Regions from separate parts of the Homo sapiens genome. Here region 1 is linked to region 2. The links are contacts of gene promoters, found by promoter capture Hi-C in human tissues and cell types (Jung and others, 2019). All regions are on one chromosome and are shown on one strand. Each heading gives the region's core, a stretch centred on a gene start or on the middle of the fragment in contact. The rest is flanking DNA. Distances are from core to core; before and after follow the strand shown. Region 1 overlaps TNC (tenascin C). Region 2 holds the start of TNC (tenascin C).

Region 1 (4,081 bases), core at 1,494-3,993, 66 kb after region 2:
GCATGTCCATGAGTCATTTCAGAAGGTTTAAAGTGGTGGGAGAAAAATGCCCCTCATTTTGCATGGAACATTGACCATACCCTAACTACCACTATCTTTCTCTGTTTTTTCTTGCATCTCATTTCTCAGCTTGGTTGCACCCTTTGAGAGGCAGCTGGAGGTAAAGCTGACCTCAAGAACCTGAGTCTTATTCTGCATGGTGAATCTGTTGGCATTGATAGTCTGTCTGGTAGCATGAGAAGAATCCCAGCATGCATCCTTAATTTGGGAGATTGTTTCTACAGCAAAATATAGGGAAATAACAGAGTTCCACTTGGAACATTTTAATCTTTTGTGTGGTTGAGGGAATTTGTCAAAGCTATAGCTGCAAATGATTGCATTGTTACCTTCTGAAACTAATTGATAAGGAGGATATCCCATGTCAATGCTAATGGCTATATTCTGCTTCTGAACCAAATCCTTTTTGTTCTTAGAGATTTTATGACATCGAATTATGCTGTATAATTGTGCCATTAAAGTTTATCCAAATGAGCCCCTTCTTTCCTCCAAACTTTGGAGCTGAAGCAAAATAACTCCCAAGTCCTTGGAAGAAATATTGTGCCTCTTCCCAACCCTAAATCCTGATCTTAATATCTGAATCCTCCAGTACTGTTGCCTCTCTCTAAAATACAGTCTGGGCCGCACTTACTTTAAAATTAGTTTTATTTGATAAATGAGCATTTAGGAGGCCAGCCCCATAAACATCTAGCCATATAGACCCCTTAACATTAAATGAGTTGCTCTCAAAACTGAATGTCTAGACTTTAACAGAAAAGAGATACTTAACCTCAGGGAAACCATCTATCTGTCCAAATTATCCAATAATTGAGTTTCCTAAGCAGAAAATTCAATGCCTAACTTCAAGTTTTTCTTTCACCTTTGCATTCACTGGGAATTTTGAATGGAAGCCATCTTCACCTTTACGGTATTAAATGGTAAAATATAGATTTTCCTACAATGCATATTAAGTACTGTAAAAATTTCTCTTGTATGGGTATTAGCCTTTAATTTGTGCAAACAGTAGATACTAAAAAAGAATACTAAATGAGGAAACTCCAAAGAAGCATTTTCTAAAACATGTTCAATGGAACACCAGCTCCTTGAGATGTTCAAAGGATATTCCTCAGATAGGGTATACATTGATCAATAAGTTTATGAAATTTGGGCCAAACAAAATTAAACAGGTTTACTGACAGAACCAGCCTGTCAGAGCCTTTAAAATGCAAACCCACCTTGTGAATCTCTATGGTAAGACATAATATTCGGTGTTTACCATGCATACTTAATCATAAAGCTGTCTTTTCTTGGAACATCTTACAGGGCTTGTGTCCCCAGTACAAACTTTAGAAAATGTAGCCTTAATACCCTTCACGTTACTCCAATCTACCACTCTAATGGCTTGTCTACTCTTCTTCATACATGACTAGCAAATGGTGGTGTTTATGCTTTAAAAGAACACAGATCTAAAAAATAAAATAAAAATAAAGAACACAAATATACACCTGCAGAGAAAGCAATATATTTTCTATCATCATATTCAATGCAGGTGTAGACACAGCCTAACATACTGTCTCTTCTGTATGTATTTGGAGATATTGATGCTTTCATGTTCTATGGCTACATTCTGGAAAAATCCACTGCTTCCTCTAATAATGTCTCTCTCTTTCTCTCTGCCCATATTCCTTCTTTAGAACCAAAGCCACAGTTGGGCACGCTAATCTTTAGCAATATTACTCCAAAAAGCTTCAACATGTCATGGACCACTCAAGCTGGGCTTTTTGCAAAGATTGTTATCAATGTGAGTGACGCTCACTCACTGCATGAGTCCCAGCAATTCACAGTCTCAGGAGATGCAAAGCAAGCTCACATCACAGGCTTGGTGGAGAACACTGGCTATGACGTCAGTGTGGCAGGAACCACCTTGGCTGGGGATCCCACCAGACCCCTCACTGCCTTTGTCATTACAGGTACTCAATCAGAGGTTCTCACTTGTCTAACACAGAGAGAAAAGGAGATAAGTCATCTTAAAGGAAAATTCAACAAAAATACAATCTTCACTGCAAATGTGTACTCTCTTATTTTTAATTGACAAATAGTAATTGTATATATTTATGGAGAATAGTGTGTTGTTTTGATATACATATACATTGTGGATTGATTGAATCAACCTAATTAACATATCAATCACCTCACCTTATTTATTTATTTATTTATTTATTTATTTATTTATTGTGCTGTGAGAACATTTAAAATCTACTCTTTTAGGAATTTTGAAGTATTCAATATGTTATTATTAACTATGGCCAGTCACCATGCTGTGCAGTAGATCACTAAAACTTATTCCTTCTGTCTAACTGAACTTTGTACTCCTTGACCAACATCTCCCCTTTCTTCATCTCCCCAACCCCAGTCACCGGTAACCACCAGTCTTCTCTGTGCTTCTATGTGTTCAGCTTTCTTAGATTACACAAATGAGATCACGCAGTATTTGTCTTTCTGTGCCTCGATTATTTCACTCTGTACAATGTCTTCTGGGTTCATCCGTGTTGTTGAAAATGACAGAATTTTCCTCTTTTTTAAGGCTATAAAGTATTCCATTATATATATATGTGTATATATATATATATGTATATATACACACATATGGAATGTATATATTTATATATAAATATGATCTATCTATACACCACATTTTCTTTATCCATTCATCCATTGACAGACACAGGTTACAATACATTACTCATGATAGCCAAGATAATATATGTAAACTTCTAAGTAAAGAGAAAGCAGATACTATTATAAAGGAGAGGACTTTCACAGCTGCTCTTAGGAAGTGGAGAGAACGTTCTCAAGAGTTGTATAAAGCTTTTAGGGTTTTTTGTGCCCAGTTTTATTGGCTGTTTTATCCCTAGTTTAGAGATTCTGCCTAAAAAGTGACTCCTAAGTTAGTAAAGGCCTAAGATCGAAATCCTGTTCATAAATCATGCTAGGTAACGCAGTTCATATATGTGACAAAAGTATAACCATCTTTTTCTTTAAAAAATAATTATTCTTAAAACTGACAACACAGATGCAGCTAGATGCAGCTAATTTGAAATTCCTGTCTCCTTTTTTTCTTTTGATTAAAAAAAAAATGCATTTACCAGTACTGTCAGAAAAAAAAAAAAAAGAAAAAAAAGAAAAAAGAAAAATCACCTAGAAAAGAGACGCTGAACCTTCTCCACTAATCCTCCTTATCCCTCAGGATTGCCATCACTGATTGGGGTTGGCTTTGGGTATGGAAAGAACGTAGAACTTGGAGTCGGAAGACCTGGTTGTATATCTCAGCTTAGGCACCTAGCAGATGTATGACCTAGGATAAGTCATTAACTTCTCTGGTTTTTTTAGATGTGATCGGGGTTGGAAGATTGATGAAGGTTCAACCTCAGATGGCAGATAAATTTCAAGTTTAATTAAGCCCTACCCATTCACTCAACTTGACTTCTTGAACATTTGCCAATGTTCAATTTGGCAAATGCTGCCAAATGGTGGCAGCAAAAACTTCAATGGCAAAGGCTGCACATGGTGTCAGTTTACTAAATTCTAGCCCAAAAAGCCTCAGAAAATATTTAGAAGTCTCTTCCTTTTCATTAGTGATAATTTTCAGAAGACGGACTTTGCCATCTGATTTTCACATTAAACCAGGTCTCTCCCAGGGTCTAAATTGCCATCACTAAGACATGTCAATTAGTACAATTAAATATTTAATTATAGGCAGCATGGTGTCCTGGAAGAGTGAGGATTTTGAGATCAAGCTTTTGTGGTTTCTAAACCTCTCCCACAGCTTTTTAGCTACATAATTTTAGCAAGTTCTTAACTTGTTTGAACCCTAATTTCCTTATGCATGGAGAGAGGATACCACAGGCACTTCTGGGAGCCTTGTCTCATAGATTAAATAGAGTTGGTGAAATTTAACTGCCTAGCATCCAGTAGGAATTTTATACATGCTAGGTTCTTTCTGCTGTCTCCCAACATTATTAGGAAAGTGGCTTTCTTAAAAATA
Region 2 (4,306 bases), core at 566-3,065:
CAGTAGGAACCACTCACTGCTGGTTGAGACACAGCTTCATGCTACTGAAATATCCTTTGGCTAAAGCACAGAATTTAAAACTTCCCAAACAACCAACATTTGAATCAGCCAAAATGGATCAAAAGTTCAAATGAGCGGTTTTATGACATGACTATTTATGGGCTTTCTTGCTGTCTGGGAGGGTCACTTTAGCAGAGAATCCTAAAATACTACAGCCAAAGCAACCGTAGGATGACCTAATCGTGTCTTGCTTTTTTTTTCAGATGGGGAAACTGAGGCCCACAGCAACAATAATAACTGTGGGGATGATATCATTTAATATTGAAAATAAGTGGATAATTGAGACCTCCATTATTAGTAGTTAATTTTTAAAAATCAAAGATCTCTCCTAATTAGCTTTATGGAGCAAATAAATATATTTTCCATATTCAAATATGGCTGTGATTTCTACACAAATGGTGTTAACAATCTAATACAGCATAAAACATTGTTTAAATATCATCATACCCTATTCCTAAACAGTAACGTGTAATAGATCTCTGGAGCCCAGTGTTGTAATATAAACACTTCCCAGGTGTATTCCCTTGGTAAAGTTTCATTACTTCTCTAAACGTCAGTTTTCTTGTGTAAAAAAGAGACACTTGTGTCTATCCTACTTACTGGTTACAAGGATATAATAAAAATAGTGAACAAAAATAGTGTTCATAAAGTACCCTGCACAGCACCTGATTATAGACTTAATAAGGGAGGGCTCAATGGTAGTTGCGTTTTGAATTACATTTAATGCTTCATTTTACTTCACTGTCACAAACTACTATGCTCTGCGGCAGGCTCAGAAGTCTCTAGGCACGGGTGAAGTGCTACTTCTCCACTCCCTTAAATGCCCCTGTATGCCCTGAGGATACTCAATGCATGCTAACCACCAAACGAACGGATGACTCAGAGCTTGGAGGAAATCCACGGCAGGCTGGAAAGCAAAGGCGCAGCTTATGGCTCAAGGATTAGGTTGTTACCTTTTTAAATTATTGCTTTTCTTTAAAGAAAGGGCTGTGGGGGACGCCTTTCAGCACTAAGAGAAAACCTCAGAAATCCTTCCCCCTGGAGACCCAGCTGAGAAGACCACACCAGGCACAGGGCATGAACAATGTCAAAAAGCTACTGCCCTGCAGGACACTGGGGCTGGAACAAAGATGCCTCCCAGCAGCTGGGCAAGGCTGGCTCCCACACAAGAAAAGCAGGGCTGATGTGAGCGTCCCGCACGATCCCCACCTGCTGAGACCTAATCCTGGGTTATCTCTCCGCTGGCCCAGAGAAACCTGAAACCCCCCAGGCTTTTGAAGGGCTTTATCTCCTCTTTCCAGGAACTGGGCTCAGTCCCTGTACTCGCTCCGAGGTGCCACTGAGCAGCTGCTGCCCAGAGCCCAGGCGAGCCCTGGTCCCATTTCCAGCTTGACCAAGTACAAGAGGGGAGCCAGGGCTGCGGATCCTACTCCCTCTTGCTCCCCAGGCATCCGTCTCACAATTAGAAAACCCGTGTGGGGAGCAAAGCAAAAATCACATTTCACTAACAGCTACTCGGGGTCGGGGGCGGGCAGGCGGGAATTCCTACTTTCGCCATAAATTGTATGCAAATGGGTTCCTTCCCTGGCCGAGAGCCAGGAGTGAGTGCGTCTTTCATGAGCTAACCCTGTTCCGCTGGGAGGGCTGTTCCTTTAATTCGCCAACTGAAAAAGTGGGAAAGGATGTCTGGAGGCGAGGCGTCCCATTACAGAGGAAGGAGCTCGCTATATAAGCCAGCCAAAGTTGGCTGCACCGGCCACAGCCTGCCTACTGTCACCCGCCTCTCCCGCGCGCAGATACACGCCCCCGCCTCCGTGGGCACAAAGGCAGCGCTGCTGGGGAACTCGGGGGAACGCGCACGTGGGAACCGCCGCAGCTCCACACTCCAGGTACTTCTTCCAAGGACCTAGGTCTCTCGCCCATCGGAAAGGTAAGTCTGTTTTGCCCTCATCACTAGAGATCCTTATGATGTAAGGATTGCATTCCTGGTACCAAATGAGTTGTGATTTTATATTATAATTACAAAACATATGGGGTTTTTTTTTCCACCGCTGGAAAAAAAAGGAGTGTGTATTGGTTATATCAGATGCACCTTGACTTTTCTGGTCTTGTAATTTTGTTTGTTTTAACTTTATGAATAGTCAGACTTGGAAGGAACTTTTCGTAAAGTTGTTATCTTCTGCTGTTCTGCAGAGGAAAAGTAAAAATTTTCTCTTCAACTGCTCTCCTACTTCTAGTCTGGCTGATTCACCTGTATATATCTTTTATTTTGAGGGTTAGGGCAGTAGAGTTTTAAGGCAGACTTTGCTCATAGCCTGCCCCTGGGATGGGTTAGAGGGAGTTTGATAGAGGAGTGCAGGGAGAATATAAAAGTTTATATCTAAACAGCACTTACATAAAGTTTACAAAGAGTTTTGTACCCATTCCCTCATTTGGTCCTCAAAATATTCACCCTGGAAATGAGAGCTGGGGGACAGAAGAGAGGAGGTGGCTCCTGGGCCAGATGAATAACTGACAGGCAGCTAGAGAGTGGTGGAGAACAGCTTTACTGGGGTGCCTAGAGCCAGCAGCGTCCCACATGTCTCTAGAATCACCTCCTCCTCCTCACCTCTCATCACAGAAAGATCTGAGCAACAACATCCCCCAGGTATGGGAACCCTGCTGCCCCTGGTGTACTTTGGAAAGAACACAGGGGTTCTTCTCACCCATCAGTGTTGTAAGAGGAATAAGAGCTTAGGTTTGAAGCCAGAGGTGTTTGGTATTCTCCCCACCACCATACATATGACCCTGAGAAAGATACATCACTTCCTTAATCCTCAGTTTTCACATCTCTAAAATGGGGACAATAGCGTCTGCTGTCGTTTTGAGGAGAAAATGAGGTATAGAAAGATCAGCAATGACTGCTTAATAACTGGAAGTTTGGATAATCATTGTCATTGCCAAAAACTGCCATCACTCTGGAAGTTAAAAGAGGCATTGAGCCAGTCTTGGATTGTTTCTTGTGTGTTGTTCCTCAGCCCGCCCCCAGCCCCCGCTTTTTATCTCACCCAATCTGAGGGTGTCTCACTAGGCTGGCAGGTCTGAGACTTGGCTGTATTTTACAAGCAGGAGGTTGTGTTGGCACAGGTTGGAGAAAAGGTAGTAGCCCGGGGCTGGAAGTTAATGTCAAATTTTGATTCCAGAATGTCAGGAGGTTTTGAGTTTAGGCATCTGCAGATTCTAAAGCTGACAGCTATGAAGTACGATGCTGTTGGAAACTCTTTGGAAAAGCTTTCTGTCCGGAGGGAGGGCAGGACAGGGAGCACCACTTGAAGAATGAATGCCTCTTTTTCATGTTTTTGTAGACTTTTTCCCCCATTTTTACAGAGCTTTCCCATATGTGTTTTAGAAAGGAAAACTACTATCCATCCCAGCCAGGCAAGCCCAATTCAGGACTGAAGAAGATTTATTCAGTCCTAGACAACCAAGTGAAGAGTTTCTGGCTTTGTGCGCATACAAGTCATTTGCAGGAGATGTAAGTCAGCGTGCTTTGGCCCTTGCATTTCAGGAAGGTGACTGCTTTGTGGGGAAGAAAAAGGTGCACAATATGAGTATTCTCTGGTTTGCTCAAACAGGGTAAATTGGACAAGGATTGAAAGGGATGTTGCCAAGCTCTACAGTCATTAAATATTTTTTTCCTCTATGCTTTGTTTTAAAAACCTAGCTTCTCTATTTTATCCCACACTAACCTCCTCCTTCCCCACTCTAAGAAGTGACTAACGTTTCAGCCCTCAACTTTGTCATTCATATAATGGAGATGACAAACTATGTCTCACAGGGCTCTTGCAACATTCAAATGAGGTAATATATGGCAAACACTTGGCATAGTACCTTCCACATATTAAGGGTTCAATAAATGGAAACTTTTCTTAGTTTCTCTGTTTATCATTTTACAAGGACTTGTCCAAGATTAATATTCTAAGATCATGATTTTTAAACTTATTTTTAATGATGAAAATATTCATTACATGAATTTAGGGCAAACCCCCAGTATATGACAGGTAAATGCAGGGCTGCTTTGGTTGAAGTGGGGTCACAAGGTCTAAAACTTACACCTTTGCTCTTAGCCTCTGGGACATTGCCACAGAATCTTCAATGACAAAAAGCACATTTACAAATCATGAAACCAGGCTGTGTGCATTCTGGTTGCCATTCTGCCCTTCAACAAGGATTTTTGCCCCTCTGAGTCACCATCTGTAGCAGAAGT

Evidence for each region. The method cuts DNA at HindIII sites, captures the fragments that hold promoters and counts their contacts. A contact is called where the count stands out against the background at its distance.
Region 1: a contact is called between a fragment that was not itself captured here and the fragment with the promoter of TNC in region 2, in 2 of the 25 tissues and cell types used here (liver and thymus).

Annotation. Positions count from the first base shown.
Region 1 is chr9:115,050,665-115,054,745 of GRCh38, reverse strand. The region is part of intron 15 of TNC (tenascin C); the gene reads left to right. Among named protein-coding and RNA genes, the nearest start is that of TNC, 65 kb to the left of the region's middle. The HindIII fragment of the contact is 4,288 bases long and covers 600-4,081 here.
Region 2 is chr9:115,115,666-115,119,971 of GRCh38, reverse strand. It overlaps TNC (tenascin C), which reads left to right and starts at 1,815. Exons shown (of 28, transcript NM_002160.4): 1 at 1,815-1,990. All of the region lies in intron 2 of LOC124902255 (a long non-coding RNA gene), which reads right to left. LOC101928748 (a long non-coding RNA gene) reads left to right here. Exons shown (of 6, transcript NR_110950.1): 6 at 264-433. RefSeq lists an enhancer at 717-1,536. The HindIII fragment of the contact is 7,931 bases long and covers 1-4,274 here.